Linked DNA regions of Homo sapiens: region 1 is linked to region 2. The links are contacts of gene promoters, found by promoter capture Hi-C in blood cells and fetal thymus (Javierre and others, 2016). All regions are on one chromosome and are shown on one strand. The core of a region is centred on a gene start or on the middle of the fragment in contact, and the rest is flanking DNA. Distances in the headings are between cores, read along the strand shown. Region 1 holds the start of NACAD (NAC alpha domain containing). Region 2 holds the start of DDX56 (DEAD-box helicase 56).

Evidence for each region. The method cuts DNA at HindIII sites, captures the fragments that hold promoters and counts their contacts. A CHiCAGO score of 5 or more calls a contact.
Region 1: a contact is called between the fragment with the promoter of NACAD here and the fragment with the promoter of DDX56 in region 2, in 12 of 17 cell types (fetal thymus, naive B cells, non-activated CD4 T cells and 9 more). The highest score is 9.2, in fetal thymus.

The regions. Positions count from the first base shown.
Region 1 is chr7:45,086,766-45,092,178 of GRCh38, reverse strand. NACAD (NAC alpha domain containing) reads left to right here and starts at 3,210. Exons shown (of 8, transcript NM_001146334.2): 1 at 3,210-3,351. The coding sequence starts at 3,285. The HindIII fragment of the contact is 4,426 bases long and covers 428-4,853 here.
Region 2 is chr7:44,572,040-44,577,228 of GRCh38, reverse strand. It overlaps DDX56 (DEAD-box helicase 56), which reads left to right and starts at 3,321. Exons shown (of 14, transcript NM_019082.4): 1 at 3,321-3,393; 2 at 3,485-3,646; 3 at 4,179-4,339; 4 at 4,485-4,655; 5 at 4,792-4,882. The coding sequence starts at 3,334. RefSeq lists an enhancer at 3,555-3,704. The HindIII fragment of the contact is 6,359 bases long and covers 1,964-5,189 here.

The DNA of each region.
Region 1 (5,413 bases), core at 1,961-4,460, 520 kb before region 2:
GATTCAAATACCACAGACTCTCGCCTTTCTTACTAAATTCTCATAGATTTTCTTGAATAGATGTTTCTTTCTTTTTTTTTTTTGAAACAGAGTCTCACTCCATCACCCAGGCTGGAGTGCAGTGGCAGGATCTCGGCTCACTGCAACGAACCTCCGCCTCCAGGGTTCAAGCAATTCTCCTGCCTCAGCCTCCCTAGTAGGTAGGATTACAGGTGTGCATCACCATACCCAACTAATTTTTGTATTTTTTTTAAGTAGAGATGGATTTTCACCATGTTAGCCAGGCTGGTCTCGAACTCCTGATCTCAAGTGATCCGCCCACCTTGGCCTCCCAAAATGCTGGGATTACAGGCGTGAGCCACCACATCCAGCCTTGAACAGATGTTTCTTCATTTGCTGTTTGCCCTTCAGACCATTTCCAGAAGCTTTAATTTGTTCTCTCTTTCACTTTTATTTTGTTGGGCCCTTTCTTTTTTTTTTTTTTTCCCAAGACGGAGTCTCACTCTGTCACCAGGCTGGAGTGCAGTGGCACGATCTCAGCTCACTGCAACCTATGCCTCTCAGGTTCAAGCAATTATCCTGCCTCAGCCTCCCGAGTAGCTGGGACTACAGGCATGCACCATCACGCCCGGCTAATTTTTGTATTTTTAGTAGAGACAGGGTTTCACCATGTTGGCCAGGAAGGTCTTGATTTCTTGACCTCATGATCTGCCCACCTCAGCCTCCTGAAGTGCTGGGATTACAGGCATGAGCCACCACGCCTGGCTTGCTGACCTTTCAACTCAGTTTGTTTTTTTTTTTTTTTAATAATTTTTACCAGGCTGGGTGTGGTGGCTCACACCTGTAATTCCAACACTTTGGGAGGCCAAGGTGGGTGGATCACGAGGTCAGGAGTTCAAGACCAGCCTGGCCAACAGGGTGAAACCCCGTCTCTACTAAAAATACAAAAATTAGCCAGGCATGGTGGGACCTGTAGTCCCAGCTGCTCGGGAGGCTGAGACAGTAGGATCGCTTGAACCCGGAAGACAGAGGTTGCAGTGAGCCGAGATCATGCCACTGCACTACAGACTGGTCAAAAGAGCAAGACTCCATCTCAAATTAAAAAATTAAAATTAATAATAATAATTTTTACCAGTTTCACTGGGGAGCTGCTCAGCAGAACTCCCCATGCTTTCATTCTGGAAGTCAATCTGCCTTTTATTTCTTCTTGCTTTATTGCAAGGTTTAGAAATTCCAATAATATGTTGAAAAGAGTGGTGAGTGCGGACACCCTTGCCTTGTTCCCAATCTTAAAAAGCATTCAGTCTTTCACCATTAAGTATGATGTTAGCTGTATAAGTTTTTTATATAAGATCTTTATCAAGTTTATTTTTAACTTGCTGAAAGTGTTTTTTTTTAAATCATGAATGATGTTGGTTATGTCAAACACATTTTCTGTGTCAACTGATACCAAAATTTTTCTTCTTTAGCCTGTTGGTGTTCTGGAGTATTGTTGATTGATTTTCAACTGTCAAACCAGCCTTGCATACGTGGAATAAATTCCACTTGGTCATGGTGTATTTTTTTTATACATCATTATATTTGATTTGCCAATATTGAGAATTTTTGTGCCTGAATTCATGAGAGATGCTGGTCTGCAGTTTTCGTTTTGGGGGTCTTGGGGTGTATTGACACTTTGTTAGTTTTTTTTTTTTTTTTTTTTTTTTTGAGACGGAGTCTCGCTCTGTCGCCCAGGCTGGAGTGCAGTGGTGCGATCTCGGCTCACTGCAACCTCCGCTTCCCGGGTTAACGCCATTCTCCTGCCTCAGCCTCCTGAGTAGCTGGGACTACAGGAGCCCGCTACCACTCCCGGCTCATTTTCTGTATTTTTAGTAGAGACGGGGTTTCACCACGTTAGCCAGAATGGCCTCGATCTCCTGACCTCGTGATCCGCCAGCCTCGGCCTCCCAAAGTGCTGGGATTACAGGCGTGAGCCTCCGCGCCTGGCGACACATTGTTAGTTTTGACATCAGGATATTTCTTGCCTTATAAAATGAGTTAGGAAGTGTCCCCTTCTCTTTTGTTTTCTGGAAGAGATTGTTTGAAGTTGATGTTAATTCTAATGGTGTGGTGTGTCTGACTCCTGGGGTACAGCGGGGAGAGATGCCCAGCAGGCAGCCAGGTGTGTAGCACTGAGCCTTGAGGCAGGTCTGGGGGAGTCAGAGGGCAGCCCCTGGCTTCATGAGCTCAAAGTTAGAACCCACAGAAGACTGAGGATGTTGAAACCTCCCTCCCTGCCTGTGACAATGGCTACTCTGATTCCCCCCACCCCAGTCAGGGGTGATGACAATGTCTCATTCATCTGTCTCCCTGGTGCCTGGCACGGGGGAGGAGGGGTGCTCAGTGAATCTGGGTGGCGCAGTAGCCTGTGTGAAAGCAAGAGGCATTTCAGGAAATTCACGGGGCGGGCTTCCTCCTGGGAGGTGTGGCAGAGGGTGCTGCCAGGAATAGAGGGAAACACTTTCTTCCTTTTCCTTCTACTGCCTAGTGTGGGGGTGGAGGGGAGATGATAGGACAGATCACCGAGTTGCCTAGAGACCTGGAGACCGACCCATCCGGGTCGCCTTCCCTGGTGCGCTCTCGTCGGCTCCATCCCTGGTTGCCATGGAGACAGGAGGCGGTTGCCACGGAGACCGACGACTGCCAGGACCAGCCAATCACTCCAGAGCTGCAGCTCCAGCTCACCTTTTGCATGGAGGCATCGGGCTGGGCGGGGCCCCCTCCCTCCCCAGGCCCTGCACCCTCTGCTTGGTCAGCGGGGAAGGAGGCTGCGCCGCCAACTCCACCCAAAGCGCTCCGAGCATCCCAGAATCCCAACCACCTCCCCAGCCTCCCACAACCAGGGTTCTAGGGGCGTCCCCGCCTCTTCCTGGCCACGGGCGAATGCCACCCTGAGGCAACCCAGCTTCCAATTGGCCCTGAAACCCTCCCTCGTAAATGCTGTGGAAAGGGTGGGACCGGGCGCAGGCGCCCACCCCCGCTCCCCCACGAAACCGCCCACAGCGAGAGGGAGGCCACAGCCGGGTGGGGTGGGGGCGGGGAGGGAGCCCCCCCTACGCCCTCCGCAGTGCCTGGCGAGCCCGCGCACGCTCACTCGCTGGGACAGGCGGGCGGGGCGGCCTGACGTCACCCACTGCCCCCACCGCCCGGCCGAGGGGCGGTGGCCGCGCAGGCTCGGCGGGGCGGCGGCACGGACTGACGGAGGGTCGGAAGGACTGAGGGACGGGCGGGCGCACGGCCAGGCCATGCCTGGGGAGGCTGCCCGCGCCGAGCTGCTGCTGCCCGAGGCGGACCGACCCGGGCCCCGCACAGGTGAGGCCGTGGCCACTCTTTCCCTGCCTTCAGCCTCTCCCCTCTCCAGCCCGGGTTCTCTTTCCATCGCTCACCTTTCACCCCTCTCCCCCATCCCCCTGGCCCCCCTCGAGTCCCCTCCCCTTTCCGCGCCCTGTCCTTCCCTCCATCTGAACCCTGCTACCGCCTCTCTCAGAACTGCGGGGAAGGTGGGGCGCACGAAGTGCCCGCCGCGAGCCAGAAAGAACGTGGGGGCTTAAGCCCTTGGCTTCCGACCCAGGGATCGTGGGGCTCGCATCCCGCCCGCTGCATCCCGTTGTTTGCACCGAGCTGCCAGCCTGCTGGGGCTGGGCCGCTCTGGACAGAGGCAGCGGGTTCTGGAGGCGGGGTGTCCGGCTGATACCCCCAGTACGATCAGGTGACCACCGGGAGGGTCCTCAGTTGCACCCGGTCTGTCCTGGGCCGGCGACTGGTCATGGCTCTGGAGGGAGGAGCAGGACTGGCCAGAGCCTAGGAAGCCCGGATGGAGGGCCAGGTGGTGGAATAAAGCCTAAGTTGGGTCTGGAAGGTGGAAGGCCTTGGGGGAGGTGGCCTGATTAGCAATGGCCCTGGGTGTGCAGACCACCTGTCCTTAGGCTGGGTCAACAAATGCTGGTGGAGGCTGATGGGGTCTACGGGGCCTAGAAAGAGCCGAGCCTGGACAGTCCTGGCGTGGAGGTCAGCCATGTGTGGGTAGGGCCAAGGGCACCTTGCTGTGGGCAAGAAGTCACCCAGAGATGGGACCACTGCTGGGGCCTGGGGCCTGGTTTGGGGTGACACAGGCTGCTGCCTCTGCTCTAGGTGGGAGGCAGGGAGTGCAGGCCCAGACTTCCCAGCCCCAGGGTCTTGTGCTGGCTCTGTTCTGGCTTGCTTGGTGACCTTGAATGAGTTATAAAAACCTTTGGCCTTTGGTTTCTGCTCCATCCCAACAGCTCAGCCGTTCCCCTGCCCTGGGGGCCACACCAGGGGCCAGAACCAAGAGCCCAGCTTCAGGGCACCCAGTGATGCCCCACCAGCCACGCCCACTCCTGATGTTGGGTGTCAGGCATGCAAGAACCCAAAGGACCCCCTTGTCTCAGGACCCCCTGGATGTCCCATCACCCCAGCAGCAAAGCCCTTGGGTGACAAGTTTTGGCTGGTGGTTCAGGGCTCAGGGCTCTGATGCTGCTGAGGGGAGCTGGAGCAGCCTGGCAACAGGGTCCCCCTTCTTTCAGCTTCAACTCTAATCCTGGCTCTGCTTTGTAGATGAGAAAGCTGAGGTGCAAGAGATGTTGTCCTGGTCACCAGTGAGTGCGGGAGAGCAGGAGCCACCAGGCAGGCATCTGCAGCCTGGAGAGCTGGCCCCTGTGTGCCGCCGCTCCCCCACCTTGGGCAAGACCTGGCCTGGGCTCTGAAGGGCCTTCATTGGATGCTTCAAACAGAGGTGCCTTTGGCCTAGGTCCAAGTGAGGGAGTGGACATAATGGAGACATTTAAAATGAAGCTTATGAGCATTTAGAGCACACAGGAAAATGCTTATGAGATTAGGTTGGGTGAAAATAGCTAGATTCAAAACTGAATGTGCAATGTGATCTCGCCTGTGATAAAATACAGGCCAGTAAGAGTCCAGGAGGCAGAAAACCATAGCGGTCTGGTGTGCCGCAACCTCGGAGGGGTTTTCTTCCATCTTCCTGAGTCCCCTAAGTCCTTTCTGACCCATGAGGGCTACTTCCTATGGACTCCTTTCTCAGCTGGAGGTGTGTTAGCTCACAGACGTTTACTGAGTACCAGAGCCTCCTCATACTGAAGCCTGCCCAGCGGGTTGGGGGAGTGCATCATGGGACCCAGAGAAGGCCCACAGGGCAGGGTGGGAACTCCCAGCACCCGGGAAGGAACTGGTGGTCACCCATGGGGTGGCTGCCACCAAGGAGAGGACTCAGCCAGAGGCTGCTGTTGGCCCTCTGAAGCTGTCCTGTGCTCTTGCTGGGCTCCATGGTCTCCGTTCCTGCCCACCACTGCCCTTGTGGCCAGATGCTCCAGCAAAGCCTCCACGGGACACTTCATCT
Region 2 (5,189 bases), core at 2,072-4,571:
AAGTAGCTGGTACTACAGGTATACTCCACTGTGCCTGGCTATTTTTACTCTTAAAAATACATGTGGGCTGGGCACGGTGGCTCACGCCTGTAATCCTAGCACTTTGGGAAGCCAAGGTGGGTGGATCCCTATAGCCCAGGAGTTCGAGACCAGCCTGGGCAACATGGCGAAATCTTGTCTCTGCAAAAAATACAAAAAATTTAGCTGGTGGCACATGCCTATAGTCCCAGCTACTTGAGAGGCTGAGGTGGAAAGATCACTTGAGCCCGGGAGGTCAAGGCTGCGGTGAGCCATGATCGTGCCACTGCACTCCAGTCTGGGCAACAGTGATCCCATCTGAAAAAAAAAAACAAAAAAAAAAATGCAATTTAGGGCCAGGTGGGGTGGCTCACGCCTATAATCCCAGCACTTTGGGAGGCCAAGGCAGGGGGATCGCCTGAGGTCAGCAGTTTGAGACCAGGCTGGCCAACATGGTGAAAACCCCTCTCTACTAAAAGTATAAAAATTAGCCAGGCATGGTAGTGTGTGCCTGTAATCCCAGCTATTCAGGAAGCTAAGGCAGGAGAATCGCTTGAACCCGGGAGGAGGTTGCAGTGAGCAGAAATCGAGCCACTGCACTCCAGCCTGGGGGGCAGAGGGAGACTCTGTCTCAGAAAAAAAAAAAAAAATGCAATTTAGTTCTCTAGGCTTTTCCATTTAATAGTTTTATATCCTCCTGTTTCTAAATCTGGATGACAGTGTAACACTCCAGTAAGGTGAATTGTGAATTGCTGAAATTCTTCAGATGTTTAAAAGAGTTTTCAGTATTCCTCATGTTAGAATTAATGCAGAGAAAAATTTTATCCTTTGAACTAGTTACATGTTGTGGACTTCTGGCCTGAGGCTCTTGGGGATTATGTGACATATTGGGAAGGGACACATTTCTGCTCTGTGGCTGTTACTAGAAATCTAGCCAGCAAATCAGACTACGTTTGTGAGAAGACAGGAAGGCACAGATTAGGGTTGAGCCAGCCTTCAACAGGTTTGGCTGGCAGTAGACACAGTGGAGCACATCTTAACTATTTTGGTAGGTCCTGGGTTTCTCTTGGTAGTTTTTGATAGAAAGGGGAATGGTGTGAGGAAAAAGTGGGCATACATTTCACCTTTCCACTGATAAGGCAGGTGGAATTGGGATAGTCAGTGGATGGGCCAATAGCTGGTGGCTGTGAGAAGAATAAGGATTTCCATACTGGTGTGTCATATTTACAGATAGGTTGTGACCTAAAAAGTTTTTTAAAAAACAGCAGTTAGGGCCTGGGCGCGGTGGCTCACGCCTGTAATCCCAGCACTTTGGGAGGCCGAGGCGGGCGGATCACAAGGTCAGGAGATCGAGACCATCCTGGCTAACAACGGTGAAACCCTGTCTCTACTAAAAATACAAAAAATTAGCCGGGCGTGGTGGCAGGTGCCTGTAGTCCCAGCTACTCGGGAGGCTGAGGCAAGAGAATGGCGTGAACTCGGGAGGTGGAGCTTGCAGTGAGCTGAGATCATGCCACTGCACTCCAGCCTGGGCGACAGAGTGAGACTCCTTCTAAAAAACAAAAACAAAACCAAAACAGTAGTTAGGGTACACACACACAAATTCTAGTGATTTTCCCCCCAATACTACCCTTGACTTTTGAAATTCTTGCTTTCTCAGAGTTTACAACATCCTTACCAAACAGCCTTCTCCCTCCTTACCACAAAAAAAGAAAAAAAAGTTCTGGGGTTGAGGGGACACTCCATTCTTAACATCCTCTATTATCCCAGCCCAATTCCCCAGCTCTCACTGGGACTAGTTGTACCTATCTTCATCATTTGGTCCCAGCATGACTACCTGTTGGTGCATGAGCTGATCTCTCCTAACCTAACAGCCAGATGCTAGTCTCTGGTACTCAGATGCTGGGCTGCATCAGATAGGATGCACAGGATCATCCTGGAAGCTTGTTGACATAGATTCCTGTGCAACACTCAGATATAGTCTTAATGTAGATTTGTGTTGGGTGGTATGGTAGGTAGAATAATGGCCTACCACTCTGAAACATATGAATATGTTACCTAACATGACAGAAGAGAATTAAGTTGCTAATCAGATGACTGTAAAATAAATTATCCTGGATCATCTGGATGGGCCTAATGTAATCACAAAGGTTGTTTCCTTGCCTTTTCCAGCTTGGCTCTGGCTCCCTTCCTCCAGCAAGGGTGGGTTGAGCTCTCACATGGCACCACTTTGACCTCTTCTGCTTCCCTCTTCTACACTGAAAGACTTATGGGCCAGGAGCAGTGGCTCGCACCTGCAATCCCAGCACTTTGGGAGGCCGAGGAAGGCAGATCGCTTGGCCCCAGGAGTTCAAAACCGTCCTGGGCAACGTGGCGAAACCCCATCTAGAAAGAAAAGAAGAGAAGGGGAGGGGGGAGGGGAGGAGGAGTTACATATATACACATACACACACACACACACGTACGTACATACATACATACACGCTAACTGGACGTGGTGGTGCGTGCCTGTAGTCTTAGCTTTCCAGGAGACTGAGGTGGGAGGACCACTTGAGCCTGAGATCGCGCCAGCCTGGGTGACAGTCAGACCATGTCTCAAAAAAAAAAAAAGATTTGTGATTAGGATTCTTAGTCCTCACCTGTATTATTTTCCTATTGCTACTGTAACAAATTACCACAAATTTACTGGCTTAAAACGACGCAAGTCTGTAGGTCAGAAGTCTGACACGGGTCTTAACTGGTGACCCGAGTCAGATTTGGGACACAAAGAACAGAAACCAAGCTGTGCAGGTTTCTGACAGGCAGTCCGGTTAGGGAGCCCTACAGCAACCCGCCGGTCCTCTCTCTCAGGCAGTTGCTGCCATGGCTCATTATTCCAACCGGTTCTCCTCAGCCCAGTCTATCTCAGTGGCTCCATTCATAGGGTGATGTGCCCGGCGGGACACTAACCCTAACCAAGCAGAGAGACGGTCATGCCCGTCACGACCTCGGCCCTCGCCCCGGCCGAGGCTTCTCCTGCAGGTCGCGAGAATCAGGTGCGTCAGCGGCGTCCGGGAACGCCGGAAGAGCCAGTGGAGCGGCTCTGTAGTCCAAAGTACCCCGTCGACCCCAGCACGGCCGCTCCACCGCCTCCTACTAGACCCAGTCCTAGGGACTGCGCAGTCGCAGAGCTCCGTCCGAGTACCGGAAGCCTAGGCCGCCAGCACTTCCGGGAAGTGACTTCGTCTCCGAAGCCGATTGGTTGTTGCTTTGCTCCCGCTCGCGTCGGTGGCGTTTTTCCTGCAGCGCGTGCGTGCTGCGCTACTGAGCAGCGCCATGGAGGACTCTGAAGCACTGGGCTTCGAACACATGGGCCTCGATCCCCGGCTCCTTCAGGTACACGCGAGGGCTGGGGAGCCGGCTTACGGGCTCTGCGGGGCGCGCCATCGCTCTTCACGCCGCTTAAACCGCACTCCTGGTCTCCTAGGCTGTCACCGATCTGGGCTGGTCGCGACCTACGCTGATCCAGGAGAAGGCCATCCCACTGGCCCTAGAAGGGAAGGACCTCCTGGCTCGGGCCCGCACGGGCTCCGGGAAGACGGCCGCTTATGCTATTCCGATGCTGCAGCTGTTGCTCCATAGGAAGGCGGTGGGTAACGAGAGAGCTGAGGGGAGGAAGGAGGCAAGCTCCAAAAGCCTGGGAAGGGCGGTTCCCGTTTGTCTGAGGTTTTCTCTTGGCCCTGTACCCGTGCAGGCCGGCCTGAGAACCTGGTGCTGTTGTGGCAAACACTCTGGGCTGGAGTTCAGGTTACCTGGATCCTTGTCCGGCCCTGCTACCACCAACCTTTGCGTAATCTTCGACAAAGCACTTTCTTTTCTTTCTTACATAAAAAGGGAGCACATCTATCTTTTCTACTTACAGAATTATTGTGAGAATTTAGCTTCATAACTAGTATATTTAAAGTAGCTTCATAAACATCAGAGTACGTTATTCTTTTTGAGGGTCAGTGCCTGGGGAAAGAACTCTCCACTCTGCATTCTGAGGCGGGCAGAGTGATAGATGATCAAAGTACTGCTAAGTAGTGTTGCAGCAGATGGGTCAGGTAGGCTGGAAGGGGTAGAGACACGTGGACACAGTGATGTGCACTGCTGGCTAAAGTCTTTAATTCATATTCTTACAGACAGGTCCGGTGGTAGAACAGGCAGTGAGAGGCCTTGTTCTTGTTCCTACCAAGGAGCTGGCACGGCAAGCACAGTCCATGATTCAGCAGCTGGCTACCTACTGTGCTCGGGATGTCCGAGTGGCCAATGTCTCAGCTGCTGAAGACTCAGTCTCTCAGAGGTGGGTAAAAGCAGCAAAGCTGTACCTGAATGAAGCTACACAGTGTTGTGGGGTTGGGTTTGTGTGTGGCAAAAAAGAGAGCAAATCCAGGGTGAGATCCCAGCTGCTACATTCTGCCTGATACTGATGTCTTGTCCACCTCCAGAGCTGTGCTGATGGAGAAGCCAGATGTGGTAGTAGGGACCCCATCTCGCATATTAAGCCACTTGCAGCAAGACAGCCTGAAACTTCGTGACTCCCTGGAGCTTTTGGTGGTGGACGAAGCTGACCTTCTTTTTTCCTTTGGCTTTGAAGAAGAGCTCAAGAGTCTCCTCTGGTAAGGCAGAGGTGGGTGTGATTCCTAGTGGAAACATCTGTGAGTAGGAGTTGGGACGAGAGCGGGGTGGCTGGAAGCCAGTTACTACAATTAGCGGCCCTTGGAGCTGGAATCTGATTGGATTCTTTCATTTCAGTCACTTGCCCCGGATTTACCAGGCTTTTCTCATGTCAGCTACTTTTAACGAGGACGTACAAGCACTCAAGGAGCTGATATTACATAACCCGGTAAGAGGCACCATGGAAGTGTCTGGAGCTGCAGACATGGGGGCACTCAAAGATCTTGATGCTCCTTCTTAGGGGATTCTTTGGTGTTTTGGGTGGGACAGTTGTCACTTAGTGTCTCATCCCTGGTCCTGAGGCACTAAAAGCCAGTGGTCTAAAATCACTATATATTTCCAAGTGTCCACAAGGGATGTCTCCCATTTCAGGCCATGCTTTGCCTAAAATCCTGAGCAAGGACCTCCCCTAAGGGGCAGCTTTGAGCAGCAGAGCCAAAATTCTAAGGCCAAGGTTCTCATCTTAAGTAAACTTT